Linked DNA regions of Homo sapiens: all the other regions are linked to region 3. The links are contacts of gene promoters, found by promoter capture Hi-C in human tissues and cell types (Jung and others, 2019). All regions are on one chromosome and are shown on one strand. Each heading gives the region's core, a stretch centred on a gene start or on the middle of the fragment in contact. The rest is flanking DNA. Distances are from core to core; before and after follow the strand shown. Region 1 overlaps ATP13A3 (ATPase 13A3). Region 2 holds the start of GP5 (glycoprotein V platelet). Region 3 holds the start of HES1 (hes family bHLH transcription factor 1).

What was found. Contacts are between HindIII fragments. The study calls those that stand out against the background at their distance.
Region 1: a fragment that was not itself captured here is called in contact with the fragment with the promoter of HES1 in region 3 in 1 of the 25 tissues and cell types used here (mesenchymal stem cells).
Region 2: the fragment with the promoter of GP5 here is called in contact with the fragment with the promoter of HES1 in region 3 in 3 of the 25 tissues and cell types used here (bladder, liver and ovary).

Annotation. Positions count from the first base shown.
Region 1 is chr3:194,412,396-194,416,879 of GRCh38, reverse strand. ATP13A3 (ATPase 13A3) reads left to right here. Exons shown (of 34, transcript NM_001367549.1): 32 at 3,041-3,121. Among named protein-coding and RNA genes, the nearest start is that of GP5, 15 kb to the right of the region's middle. The HindIII fragment of the contact is 3,257 bases long and covers 1-2,880 here.
Region 2 is chr3:194,396,463-194,401,469 of GRCh38, reverse strand. GP5 (glycoprotein V platelet) reads left to right here and starts at 2,204. Exons shown (of 2, transcript NM_004488.2): 1 at 2,204-2,232; 2 at 3,186-5,007. The coding sequence starts at 3,188. The coding sequence ends at 4,870. RefSeq lists enhancers at 268-820, 821-1,374 and a silencer at 4,254-4,303. The HindIII fragment of the contact is 10,737 bases long and covers 1-5,007 here.
Region 3 is chr3:194,134,560-194,139,367 of GRCh38, reverse strand. HES1 (hes family bHLH transcription factor 1) reads right to left here and starts at 3,220. Exons shown (of 4, transcript NM_005524.4): 1 at 2,880-3,220; 2 at 2,656-2,751; 3 at 2,320-2,407; 4 at 636-1,685. The coding sequence starts at 2,987. The coding sequence ends at 1,135. RefSeq lists enhancers at 1,107-1,296, 3,094-3,253, 2,063-3,262 and silencers at 1,327-1,526, 4,253-4,792. The HindIII fragment of the contact is 11,881 bases long and covers 1-4,808 here.

The DNA of each region.
Region 1 (4,484 bases), core at 3-2,502, 280 kb before region 3:
TTTTTATGTTGTTGAACTCAATACAGTTGTTTTAGATATTCATCTTGTTCCCAGAAGCCTTATCAGACTTTATTCAGACACATTTTAGATTGTCTAGGATTTTCTGTTTAGACAGGCATCATATATAAGTAATTACAAGCTGTAATTACTTACTTGACTCCCCAGCAGTTTGTTTCTGACATTTCACAGTCTTTATGTGCTTTTTCTGTATTTTTCATGTCTTAATATATTAGTTATAGTGATAGTGATATCCTTGTCTTACTCTTGTCTCTAAAGGACGTGTTCCTAATAGTTCACCATTAGATAAACTGTTTGCTGTATATTTCTAGTGTATAGTCTTTATCAGGTTAAGGAAGCTTCCTTAGTTGTACAGTGTTGTTAACATAAGTGGTTTTAAATTTTTATCTAATGCTTTTTTTTTTGAGATGGAGTCTCGCTCTGTCGCCCAGGCTGGAGTGCAGTGGCATGATCTCGGCTCACTGCAACCTCCACCTCCCGGGTTCAAGCAATTCTCCTGCCTCAGCCTCCCAAGTAGCTGGGATTACAGGCGTGTGCCACCATGCCTGGCTAAGTTTTTGTGTTCTTAGTAGAGATGGGATTTCACCATCTGGCCAGACTGGTATCGAACTCCTGACCTCACGATCCACCCACCGTGGCCTCCCAAAGTGCTGGGATTGCAGGTGTGAGCCACTGTGCCCAGCCAATCTAATGCTTTTTCTGCAGCTATTGAAATGGTCACACAGTTTTTCTCCCTGAAGAATGTGATGAATTATAGCTGATCAGTATTCAAATATTGAACTAACTTTGCATTTCTAGAATAAATTCAGTTTGGTCATGATGCACACTCTTTGAAATTTGGATTTAGGTTGCTATGATTTTGTTTTGGATTTTTGCCTCTGCATGAATGAGATCAGATTTAATTTTCTTTTCTTGTATGTTACGGACAGGTTTGATCTTAAAGTTATATAACTTAAACTTACAAAGTTTGTGAAATGAGTATTCCATTGCAGGGACTTTTTAGTAATTTGTTTAGTCCTGTTTTGCTGGATATTTAGGTTGGTTCCAGTGTTTTGCTATTAGAAACAATGTGGTATTGTAAGGAGAATGGTGTGAACCCGGGAGGCGGAGCTTGCAGTGAGCCAAGATCACACCACTGCACTCCAGGCTGGGCGACAGGGCGAGACTCCGTCTCAAAAAAAAAAAAAAAAAAAAAAAAAAGAATGTGGTATTGTAAATCCTTGCACACTTCAGTTACAGACAAATATATATTTATAGGCTAAATATGCAAAAGTGGAATTGCTTGGTCTGAGGGTATCTATAAATTTAATTTTCATAAATTCTGCATTATTGAACTTTGAAGATGTTCCAGGTTGTAGTCTTACCAGCAGTATATGTCTGTTTCCCTGCATATTTCATTGAGGGGTTTAGATAAGCACTTACAGTAAAAGAAGAAAACAAAATGCATTATATTTCTCTCCTGGTGCACATGTCTTCTGTTTCACAACCAACTTTTTCTTGAAATAGTACCACATTCAGCTCACCTCCCACACGTTCGTCAACTAATCTGGCATCTTCCCCTGCCAATCTACTGAAACGGCCCTCAGCAAGGCCGTTAGCCTCTTACTTGTTAAGTCCAATGGACTTTTCTCCCTAATGTATTTTTTTCCAGTCTTACTTGACTCCCCAGCAGTATTTGACGAGTTAGCCATGTCATCATTCTTAAGATACTCTCTTCTGAAATTTTGTGATGCTTTGCTGTCTTTTGGCCTTTTCTTAGCTCTGACTCTCCAGTCTCATTTTCCACTTTGGCTCCACTCCCTCTGCCCATTCCTTAAATGTTAGGGTTCCTTACATTTCTGTTCTTATTCCTCTGGTCACTCAATACATTCTGGTGATATCCCCTAGAGTCATGGCTTCACCTGTAATCACCATCTATATGTTAAAGGCTCCCAACCTTTATACCCTGAGCCTACCTCACTACTAAGCTTTAGACCTGCAAATACACTGATATATTGACTGTTACTTGGGTGTTCCACCCAACAGATCCCTCAATTTAAACATTTTAAGAACTAAGCTCATCATGTTCTCCTTCAACCCTTTTTCTTCTCTGTTTCTTGGTACCACTATTTATTCAAGTCAGAAGTGTGCATGCTTGTGTACATGCGTGTGTGTCTATTTATCTGTGCCTTTTCTTCCTCTTTCCGTAGCCAGCCATTTGTTAGATTCTTTCAGTTTTCTTATTATAAACCTTTCTGTCTTTACAACTATCCCATTTTTTAGGCCTTAGAAATTAATCAGATTTTAAAGTGAACACTTAGATTGTTTTTTCTTAACTTCATCTTTTTTTATGAAGTTGTCTTTATAATTGAGTTTTGACCAGTACTTCGTTATTAGATTGGTACCTCTTTTTTTTTTTTTTTAAGGCAGGTTCTTCTGTCACCCACGCTGGAGTACAGTGGCAGGATCTCGGCTCACTGCAGCCTCCACTTCCCAGGCTCAAGTGATTCTCGTGGCTCAGCCTTTTGAGTAGCTGGGATTATAGGCATGCACCACCTCGCCTGGCTAATTTTTGTATTTTTAGTAGAGACGAGATTTTGCCATGTTGCCCAGGCTAGGCTCAAACTCCTAGCCTCAAGTGATCTGCCCACCTCTGCCTCCCAAGATGTTGGGATCACAGGCATGAGCCACTGTGCCTGGCTGGTACCTCATTCTTTAAAGATGGGTTTTTATTTTGAAAATAGAAACTGTTAGACATTCATGATCTAGTAGAGCATGGGCTTTTGAATCTGAGTGAACAGGATTTGACTCTAACCTCAGTCACTTAATATTTTCTTTAACCTTGAGTTACTTAAACTTTGAGTTTTATCATCTGAAAGGGAATATAATATATACCGCGGGGCATTGTTGAGGATTAAGTAGATAATGTATATGAAGGTGTTTGGTACATCATAGGAATTCAATAAATTTAGAAATTATGATACAGTGCTATAATATTGACTACATACAACAATTTTAACTTTAAAATGTTTTTGCATTACAGATAGTGTGTGTACCATATCAGTGGCGTGTAACTATGCTCATCATTGTTCTTGTCAATGCCTTTGTGTCTATCACAGTGGAGGTAAGCACTTCCATAGTCAAATGGCTACCATGTTGCTTTGGAATTCTTGGGTGATTTAATGGTAAATGGGAGAAGAGGGCAGGTAATATAATGGAAAGCCACAGAGTCTCAGTTTCATCTCAGGCAAATTCATTTAGCCTTCTCTTGTGAACTTTTCCATGAATTGATAGTGGTCATATTAAGGGAGGTGACTTAGTTGCACTCACACAGATAGGAGAAAATAAGCAATGTGATAATAAAAATTAATGACGAGTAGAAAGGAGAGAAGTTTGGGGCCTCGGTGGCCCATGAAACTGATGAACCAGTGATTGTGAAATCAGAGTTGGCATGTGCCACCTGTGTTTTGTGATGTACAGTAAAATCTCCCATTTAAGGGAGGGGGGAAGGGGGAGGGCCATTCTCCAGGAAACACAGTGAATATTAATAGCAAGAGAGTTTAATGAAAGTATAAAATAATAATCGTTATGGACTTACCTAATTTCAGCATTGATTACTGGAACATCCTCCTTGGTATTTGCTTTTGAGTGACCTCTAGAGGTCTTAAGTACCCTTTGATTCACTGTATATTGTGTAGTTACCCTCCCGTTAGGATTGCCTTTAGGTTAGCGTCTCTAAAAGGAGGTAGCAAGTTCTCATTGGTGGCTTATTAATAAGCTTTTGTCTGCTCTCTGAACTACTATCATAATTGACTCTTACAGTAACTATAAAAATGGAAGAGAGAGATACAGTTGTGATTTTTAAGTTAAGAGTTTCATAGCACAGGCTTTTGGATCAAAATAAAGGTAATTTTTTTGAGAAATATATATGCATATATTTTAGTGATAATAGCTCTGGTCTTAGAAATTACACTTAATTTCAATTACCCCCTAAAAGATGACTTGGTATTTAAATTTGGGATATGATGGGCAGCATGGATATTATGGTACTGACCTTTTGAAGTTGCCCATTGAAATGTGATTTTTTTTCTATTTTATGGGTGCTAGGAAGCACATGTAAGATACTATATTCTTAAAATGTTTCTTTTTCTACAGTATCAGTTCATCTTTTCACAGAAATGTTACTTATTCTTACTACCTAAAGAATGGTTTGTGTTGGATGCTGATGAAATTATATATCTATAGATAGGGATATAGAATTAGTACTAGATATTCAATGAAAATAACCATTGTGAAGAAAGACTTCAAATTACATAAGCATCATTTTAATATGGGAAAGACCTATTTATACAAAAGCCATATTTCATGGAAAATTTAGAAGTCTCATTTTATCAAGAATTTTATGATGATTTGTATTTGTTACAAAAGTCCTATCATTCTTGATCATTTGGCAGTATTAACTGAAATTCCATATATGAAAATCAAAA
Region 2 (5,007 bases), core at 955-3,454, 260 kb before region 3:
TGCATTCCTTGATCGGAACTGAAAGACCTCCCGCGATACCTGGCAGAGGCAGTGGCTCTTCCCTGTGGTCCAGGGCTGCGTGACTTTGAAGGTAATTTCAGTCAACCCAGCCTTTACTGGGCTCTGACTGCATTAGGCTGCATCAAAGGGGATTGGATCCCATGATTCTTTATATCTTCTGACATTAAGCCTTTGTCAGCTATAGGTGTTACAAATATCTTTAGTTTGTGGTTTATCTTTTCCCCTTTTTTATGGTGTCTTGAAGGATAGAAGTCTTTTTTTTTTTTTTTTTTTTTTTTATTGATCATTCTTGGGTGTTTCTCGCAGAGGGGGATTTGGCAGGGTCATAGGACAACAGTGGAGGGAAGGTCAGCAGATAAACAAGTGAACAAAGGTCTCTGGTTTTCCTAGGCAGAGGACCCTGCGGCCTTCCGCAGTGTTTGTGTCCCTGGGTACTTGAGATTAGGGAGTGGTGATGACTCTTAACGAGCATGCTGCCTTCAAGCATCTGTTTAACAAAGCACATCTTGCACCGCCCTTAATCCATTTAACCCTGAGTGGACACAGCACATGTTTCAGAGAGCACAGGGTTGGGGATAAGGTCACAGATCAACAGGATCCCAAGGCAGAAGAATTTTTCTTAGTACAGAACAAAATGAAAAGTCTCCCATGTCTACTTCTATCCACACAGACCCGGCAACCATCCGATTTCTCAATTTTTTCCCCACCCTTCCCGCCTTTCTATTCCACAAAACTGCCATTGTCATCATGGCCCATCCCCAATGAGCCGCTAGGCACACCTCCCAGACGGGGTCGTGGCCGGGCAGAGGGGCTCCTCACTTCCCAGTAGGGGCGGCCGGGCAGAAGCGCCCCCCACCTCCCGGATGGGGCGGCTGGCCGGGCAGAGGGGTCCTCACTTCCCAGTAGGGGCGGCCGGGCAGAGGCGCCCCTCACCTCCCGGATGGGGCGGCCGGCCGGGCGGGGGGCTGACCCCCCCACCTCCCTCCCGGACAGGGCGGCTGGCCGGAAGTCTTAATGCAGACAGCATTATCAGTGTGTTCAAAAGACACGTAGACACGTTTTGCCTATAGACAAATGGGCAAAAGGAAACCCAGCTTTCTCAAATGAAGCACAAGTGGGCCTTAATTATGTGAAAAGGTGTTCAAGTTCATCATTAAACAGGGAAAGGAAAAGTTAAAATCATGCTGAGATATCTTTCATAGAAATGGCAAAAAGCAGGAAGTGCCACGTGTGGGCAGAGAGGAAGCACAGGAACTCTCACAAATGGCAGGTGTCATCGTAGACCAACACAACCACTTTGGAGAGCAGTTTGACTTTCCCCAGTTAAACTGAACATGTGAGCGGCCGGGCGTGGTGGCTCATGCCTGTAATCCCAGCAGTTTGGGAGGCCGAGGCGGGCGGATTGCCTGAGCTCAGGAGTTCAAGACCAGCCAGGGCAACACGGTAAAACCCCGTCTCTACTAAAATACAAAAAATTAGCTGGGCGTGATGGTGTGTGCCTGTAATCCCAGCTACTTGTGAGGCCGAGGCAGGAGAATTGCTTGAACCAGGGAGCAGGAGGTTGCAGTGAGCCGAGATCGCACCACTGCACCCCAGCCTGGGCGACAGAGTCCCCCTCCCCCACCAAAAAAACAACAAGTGAGCATCCTGCAACCTAGCAATGCCATTGTTGAACAAGTTCAAAGATGTTCTTAGCCTTATTAGTCCCAAAAGGAAGAAAAAAATGGAGGATTTGAGAATGTTCTTAGCTTTATTGCTAAGCGGAGAAAGAAAAACAACACATACCAAAAAAAAAAAAAAAAAAAAAAAAAAAAAAAAAAAAAACCTGGGTGGGAAATTAGGGCCATGTGGCATGAAAAGGAAGACCCAGGGGAAGTGTGGCCCATCTAGGGGTGTGGCTACTGCAGTGATCCAGCTGTATCACTGAACTTCCCTGGCATCATAGAGTTATATTGTGCCATTTATGGAAAAACTCTCCCCACTGCTCTTGGCTTTGACAGTAGGAATCAGGTTATATATGGTCTCTCGGTTTGAAGATATTTGTCATTAAAAACCAGAACAAGGGCTCTGAGATAGGGTCCTTTCCTGACCTACTCTGGTAAAGTCTTTATCCTCAGGATGCAAGGATACCACCCTCTTCCTGTGGAAAGTGTCGAATCACATGCAGAGCTCTAAGTCTTTCAGTTACTTTGGAGTGCAGAACCATTTCAGGTAAGGCCAAATATTTTAAACATTAGTATAGGAAATTAGAGGGCTCTTTAGTCTGTGTGTGCATGAGAAGTAAAATTGCACGAGAAGCAATTTATGTAAAATTTCGCTTAGGAAACATTGTTTTGGCAGGTTAGTAGTATGGTGTGCATTTCCCAGAAAATTCAGTGCCGTGAGTATTACCTTTAGTTAAGCATCTTAGAAATAGTAGCTCTTTATGGCTAAGTCAGAAATACTACCCTCAAATTCTATGTGACCCTAGTTATACTGTTGAGCCTTTCTGTGCCTCTGTGCCTTCATCCTTGAATCGGGGATAATATACTTACCTCCTAAGGTTATTGTAAGGATTAAATGCATGTAGTATAAATAAAGAGCTGAGAACAATGCATGGCGTAAAGTGATAGGTATTATTATATGCTTTTGTTGGCTGTTGATTGAAGGTGTTCGCTGTTTTGGGGGTGTCCTTTAATAGAGTAACTTGGTACTGTGGAAATAGCATGATTGTGAGCAAAAGAATCAGATGGTGGTGGCTGCAGACTTTGCTGTTCCCTTCTTGACTGTTGGTTATAGCCAATGCAGGGTAAGTTATAAAGTCAAGAGCAGAGCCGTTTTCACAATGGACATTGCTTTGTGATGTCTGTGAGCTTGAATGTGAGAATGATTATTTTAATTCTCTATGTAAGGACTTTAAAGTATTGGCTATTCGGTAGCTTGAAAACTCTGTAATCTCAATGCTTTAAACTGAGAGTGGAAAATCAATAAAGCAAAAGCATGAGGCCACGCAGTGTAGAATGAGTGTCTTTTCACCACGTAGGGAAATCTGTAGTCCTAAGAAAAGAGGGAGTGAGAATTCTGGCGAAAGGATTGTGCCTCTGCACAAAGTGCAGGATCCCAGGGTTCAGTACAGGCGCGAACGCTCCTGTGTGTTGACCACACTCCCACGGTTGCTTTTTCAGACATGCTGAGGGGGACTCTACTGTGCGCGGTGCTCGGGCTTCTGCGCGCCCAGCCCTTCCCCTGTCCGCCAGCTTGCAAGTGTGTCTTCCGGGACGCCGCGCAGTGCTCGGGGGGCGACGTGGCGCGCATCTCCGCGCTAGGCCTGCCCACCAACCTCACGCACATCCTGCTCTTCGGAATGGGCCGCGGCGTCCTGCAGAGCCAGAGCTTCAGCGGCATGACCGTCCTGCAGCGCCTCATGATCTCCGACAGCCACATTTCCGCCGTTGCCCCCGGCACCTTCAGTGACCTGATAAAACTGAAAACCCTGAGGCTGTCGCGCAACAAAATCACGCATCTTCCAGGTGCGCTGCTGGATAAGATGGTGCTCCTGGAGCAGTTGTTTTTGGACCACAATGCGCTAAGGGGCATTGACCAAAACATGTTTCAGAAACTGGTTAACCTGCAGGAGCTCGCTCTGAACCAGAATCAGCTCGATTTCCTTCCTGCCAGTCTCTTCACGAATCTGGAGAACCTGAAGTTGTTGGATTTATCGGGAAACAACCTGACCCACCTGCCCAAGGGGTTGCTTGGAGCACAGGCTAAGCTCGAGAGACTTCTGCTCCACTCGAACCGCCTTGTGTCTCTGGATTCGGGGCTGTTGAACAGCCTGGGCGCCCTGACGGAGCTGCAGTTCCACCGAAATCACATCCGTTCCATCGCACCCGGGGCCTTCGACCGGCTCCCAAACCTCAGTTCTTTGACGCTTTCGAGAAACCACCTTGCGTTTCTCCCCTCTGCGCTCTTTCTTCATTCGCACAATCTGACTCTGTTGACTCTGTTCGAGAACCCGCTGGCAGAGCTCCCGGGGGTGCTCTTCGGGGAGATGGGGGGCCTGCAGGAGCTGTGGCTGAACCGCACCCAGCTGCGCACCCTGCCCGCCGCCGCCTTCCGCAACCTGAGCCGCCTGCGGTACTTAGGGGTGACTCTGAGCCCGCGGCTGAGCGCGCTTCCGCAGGGCGCCTTCCAGGGCCTTGGCGAGCTCCAGGTGCTCGCCCTGCACTCCAACGGCCTGACCGCCCTCCCCGACGGCTTGCTGCGCGGCCTCGGCAAGCTGCGCCAGGTGTCCCTGCGCCGCAACAGGCTGCGCGCCCTGCCCCGTGCCCTCTTCCGCAATCTCAGCAGCCTGGAGAGCGTCCAGCTCGACCACAACCAGCTGGAGACCCTGCCTGGCGACGTGTTTGGGGCTCTGCCCCGGCTGACGGAGGTCCTGTTGGGGCACAACTCCTGGCGCTGCGACTGTGGCCTGGGGCCCTTCCTGGGGTGGCTGCGGCAGCACCTAGGCCTCGTGGGCGGGGAAGAGCCCCCACGGTGCGCAGGCCCTGGGGCGCACGCCGGCCTGCCGCTCTGGGCCCTGCCGGGGGGTGACGCGGAGTGCCCGGGCCCCCGGGGCCCGCCTCCCCGCCCCGCTGCGGACAGCTCCTCGGAAGCCCCTGTCCACCCAGCCTTGGCTCCCAACAGCTCAGAACCCTGGGTGTGGGCCCAGCCGGTGACCACGGGCAAAGGTCAAGATCATAGTCCGTTCTGGGGGTTTTATTTTCTGCTTTTAGCTGTTCAGGCCATGATCACCGTGATCATCGTGTTTGCTATGATTAAAATTGGCCAACTCTTTCGAAAATTAATCAGAGAGAGAGCCCTTGGGTAAACCAATGGGAAAATCTTCTAATTACTTAGAACCTGACCAGATGTGGCTCGGAGGGGAATCCAGACCCGCTGCTGTCTTGCTCTCCCTCCCCTCCCCACTCCTCCTCTCTTCTTCCTCTTCTCTCTCACTGCCACGCC
Region 3 (4,808 bases), core at 1,971-4,470:
CATGACCAAGCGAAGGGGTCGCTTGCTGTTTGTATTAAAAGGGGAAGATGGCCTGTGTGCCTGCCAGCACAGCCCCCACATGCTTTCTCTATTAGAGCCAAGCACAGAAACTTATCAAAAACACATGTCTGGTGTTAATCATCTGGGCTCGGCCTCCACTTGGGAGTCTAACTAACTGTCCCTTGGCAGAAGGAATCTGTTGACCTTTTCAGCTTGCTTTAAGAGGGTGCGGAGAGGAAACTTTTGGGTGCTAGGGAACGTCTTATTTGAACCAAAGGATTGGCTAATTAATGAAGACCCCAAGTCTTGAAGGAGGCGCAGCAGTTGGAAGTGTTTTTGCTTTGGATGCTGGTGAGCTACCCTGAGAGGAGAGCTGCAGGAACCACCCTTAACGTGCAATGGGCAATAGGATTGGATCCATTAGCTTCGTGAATTTAGTCCTGTTCAATCTTCCTCAGGAGGAGCTAGAAGAACAAGGGCTGCAGACTTACCCGACTGCAACTTAAAAACATTTTTTTTGGAAATCCTTTAAGAGACTGACCACAAGTTTATCAGGGAAGCCTTACCAGATGGCTGCTTGTAAAGTAAATGGAATTTAGTCTTTTTAGTTCATGGAGGATTGGTGAAAAGTTTGATGGATTTTTACAAATGTTCTTTTAATAACAAAAGAGTCAATTCCTGAATTACCAATTACATGTAATTCAAATTCCACCAAAAGCCTTTTTACATATTCTGGAAGAATCAGTTCGAAGACATAAAAGCCTTTACTTTTTTCTTTTATTATATTTTCTCAAATAAACTTCCCCAAAGGAAGATATTTTAAGAGCATTTTCAAACATCTTTGGCATCACATAAAAAAGAAATCTCGTGTAAAAAACGAAATGTCATCTGAGCTTTTATAATACAAAGGCGCAATCCAATATGAACATATAAAATATATACAAATATAGTGCATGGTCAGTCACTTAATACAGCTCTCTCTACAAAAAGTAACTTCTTAGAAATTAAAAAAACACAAAGTAACCACTTAATCAAAAAAGTCCTCTTCTCTCCCAGTATTCAAGTTCCTGTTTAGAGTCCGGAGGGAAGAGAGGTGGGTTGGGGAGTTTAGGAGGAGGGGTGGCCTGAGCCCCCTCAGTTCCGCCACGGCCTCCACATGGAGTCCGCCGTAAGCGAGGGGCCGCTGGAAGGTGACACTGCGTTGGGGCCCACGGAGGTGCCGCTGTTGCTGGTGTAGACGGGGATGACAGGGCCGCTGTGCGCGAAGGCCCCGTTGGGAATGAGGAAAGCAAACTGGCCATCGGGAGCCGGTACCACCTGGAAGCCTCCAAACACCTTAGCCGCCTCTCCAGCCTGGCTGCCCAGCTTGCAGGGGGCGCCGCCGGGAGGGGGCGCCGCGCCCCCGGGGATGGGCACGAGTGGCGGCGGCGGCGCGAACGGCGCGTGCTGGGGGCCGCCGGGTCCCGGTGGGGGCGGTGGCGGCGCCTGCAAGGCGGGGTGCGGCTGCCCGGGGTAGGTCATGGCATTGATCTGGGTCATGCAGTTGGCCAGGTGGCCGAGCAGCCGAGTGCGCACCTCGGTATTAACGCCCTCGCACGTGGACAGGAAGCGGGTCACCTCGTTCATGCACTCGCTGAAGCCGGCTCGGTACTTCCCCAGCACACTTGGGTCTGTGCTCAGCGCAGCTGCGGGCCAGAAAGAGACAGACGGGTCACCGAACGGCCCTGGCCCCGTGGCCACTGCCTCCGCCCTGGGAGGTCCCTGTGGCGCGCCTCCCTGACCATGCGCCCGTGAAACTGCCTCCGGCAGGGAGGGTGAGATGGGTTTAGAAAAAACCAGCCACCTCTCCACACTAGCGTTGCTGCCAAAAGCCGAGCCACTCCTTCCCGATTCCCTGTAGCTGCATTTAAACCTATCTCAGCCCCAGATCTGTCACCCCCACCCCCGCGCGCGATGTGACCTTGGACAATGCCTCCCAATCCATCATCCAAGCCTCATTTCCCCTTCTGCAACGGGAAGGAGTGCTAAACCAGTGACCCCCAGGCTCCACGCAGTTCCAAACCGCCACAGTCCTAAGTCCTTTCGCCCCTACCCGGCGCCCGCCACCCTCGCGGCTGCAACCTCTTTCCCTCCCTTTCCGGAACAGTAACAACTTGGAGTTGTGGCTATAAATAAGCCCCAGACCGTGGGAACGCAAGAGTGAGCCAAGGCAGTAAAATGTAGCTGAATGCCTCTCACAACCACGGGCGGAAGTCTGGAAGAAATCACCGCGAGGCGAGCGGGACGCCCGCACAGGGGGACGCGGCGAGCCGCCCTCACCCGTCATCTGCGCCCGCTGCAGGTTCCGGAGGTGCTTCACTGTCATTTCCAGAATGTCCGCCTTCTCCAGCTTGGAATGCCGCGAGCTCTGCATAGAGTAGGCAAGAAAGGAAAGTGAGCCCCGTGTCAGCTGCTTCAGAGTGCTGGGGGTCCCTCCTCCCGGCCACGGAGCGCAAGCATTATCTCTGGACCCCAGCGAATAAGGCCGGGCCCTCCCGCCTGGGAGAACGCAGTACCAGCGAGTGCCAGACCCCGCAGGGCGGGGGGTTTCACTCTTAGTAGCTGAGAAAGTGTTTGTTTTTTAATTAAAAGAGCGAGCAGCATTTCCCCACTTACATCTTTCTTCAGAGCATCCAAAATCAGTGTTTTCAGCTGGCTCAGACTTTCATTTATTCTTGCTCTTCGTCTTTTCTCCATAATAGGCTTTGATGACTGCAAATAAAAAAAAGAGTTCTGTGTTCCCATGGAATCTGCCATCCCGGGGTTTCAAGACAGAAAGAAGCCCCCCAACCCCTACTTAATTTTGAGGGGCTGCAAAGAGATACAGGTACCGCCCTTACCTTTCTGTGCTCAGATGCTGTCTTTGGTTTATCCGGTGTCGTGTTGACACTGGCTGGGGTAGCAGCCACCGGGGACGAGGAATTTTTCTCCATTATATCAGCTGGCATTTTCCTTTTTTTTTTTTTTTTATCTCTAGAGAATTTTATTTTTGGAGTTCTTCACGAAAAAGAATTTTTTGTTTGTGTCTCTTTTACTTGAGACTTTCACAAAACTACTGAGCAAGTGCTGAGGGTTTATTATATTTTGTGGCTACTTGGTGATCAGTAGCGCTGTTCCAGGACCAAGGAGAGAGGTAGACGGGGGATTCCGCTGTTATCAGCACCAGCTCCGGATCCTGTGTGATCCCTAGGCCCTGGCGGCCTCTATATATATCTGGGACTGCACGCGAACGGCTCGTGTGAAACTTCCCAAACTTTCTTTCCCACAGTAACTTTCAGCCAATGGGAGGAGGAGACACGCGGCACCGCTCGTGGACCGCGCCCCCCCATTGGCCGCCAGGCACAAGGTCTGGCGGCCAATGGCGCGCGCCTGAGCCCAGGGCACCGGAGGCTACAACGTCAATCAAAAGGATTTTAACCCTTTGCTACTCTCCCTCTGGGCTTTGGTTTAGAGATTTTTTTTTTCTTTCCGCTTTGGTCTTGATCTTGTCTATTTCTTTTGGAGCCAGGGTCTTTGCTCTTTATGCCCTCTCTCATATGTAACAGAGCTGCTTTGACTGTAGTAAGTTCATTTGAAACATATTTTTTTTAAAGGTATAAACAATAAAGAAAAAAACAGCAGTGGTTAAAAGGGGGCGGGGGGAGGGGGGGACGGGTGTAAGAATGTGAGTTACCGACACATCTAAAGTTCCCGCTCAGACTTTACATTCAGGAGGGTGAAAGTAGATGGTAAAGGAAAAGGGCCAAAAAAATTTTCCTGTTTCCATGCAGAAAAAGGAAAAATTGCCTTCTACCTCACAAATGCAGGTTTTTCGGAGCAAGGTAGTTCTTGAATCCCACCCCCACCCCGTCTTTCAGAAATTCCTCGTTTGGATTTGGGGCCTTAGACCCCGGGCTTCCCCAGGAAACAATCAGAATAATTTCCAACTGGGTGGAAGGAAACGGTATTTCAAATGAAAAAATGAACAAGGGGGGCTCCGAGGGCAATGACTCAGGGACTCGCGCCCTCCTTCACCACCCTTTCCCTTTTCATCCGTAGGCTTTAGGTTCTGCGGCGCGTTGAGGTGGCGGGCAAGGAAGCAGCCTCTCCCTCCTCGCCCCGCGGGCGGCCTCGGCCCCCGGCGCCCGCGGGCCCTTTAAGAGCTACACCAGCCGAGCTGCAGTTTGACATCAGCCGGCCGGCGTGGGCGCGCCTGGAGCCGGAGCACGTGCCAGGATGTTTTATTGCCGCCGCGGCTGCGGCCGGGCCGGGAGGATGTGTGTGTGCGTGCGTGTGTGAGTGAGTGTGTGTGCGCGCGCCCCGGGGGCAGGGAGGCGGGGGGCGGCGACGGGCGGCGGAGAGCGGGGGCCGGTTCCTGGTCCCCGGGAGAAGCCAAGAAGGTAAATAGCAGCTGCTGTGCTCGAGCCTGGGAAAACCCCGCCCCCTGCGCCTGGCCCGGGCTCATTGGCGCGCGCTGCGTGTGGGGGGTGTGTGTGTGTGTGTGTCCGGGGCCCCCTCCTCCGGCCCCGCCGGGCCAGGAATCCGAGGGGGCGGCGGGCTGGGAGCCGAGCCCCGGCGCTTACCCTCTCTCCCCACCCCCGCCTCCCCAGGCCAAGGTCAGCTCTTCCCGGCGGGGAGCGCACACCCGGGGTGGAGAGTGGGGAATTCTTCCAACCCCCGCCTCCCCACCCTCACTTTCGGGCTTGGGGTTTTCACTCGGCCGAAAGCCGCATTCGCAACAGCCCGGGGGCGAGGTGGGGGCCTCCAAGTTTGCTCCTCGCCCCCGCCCT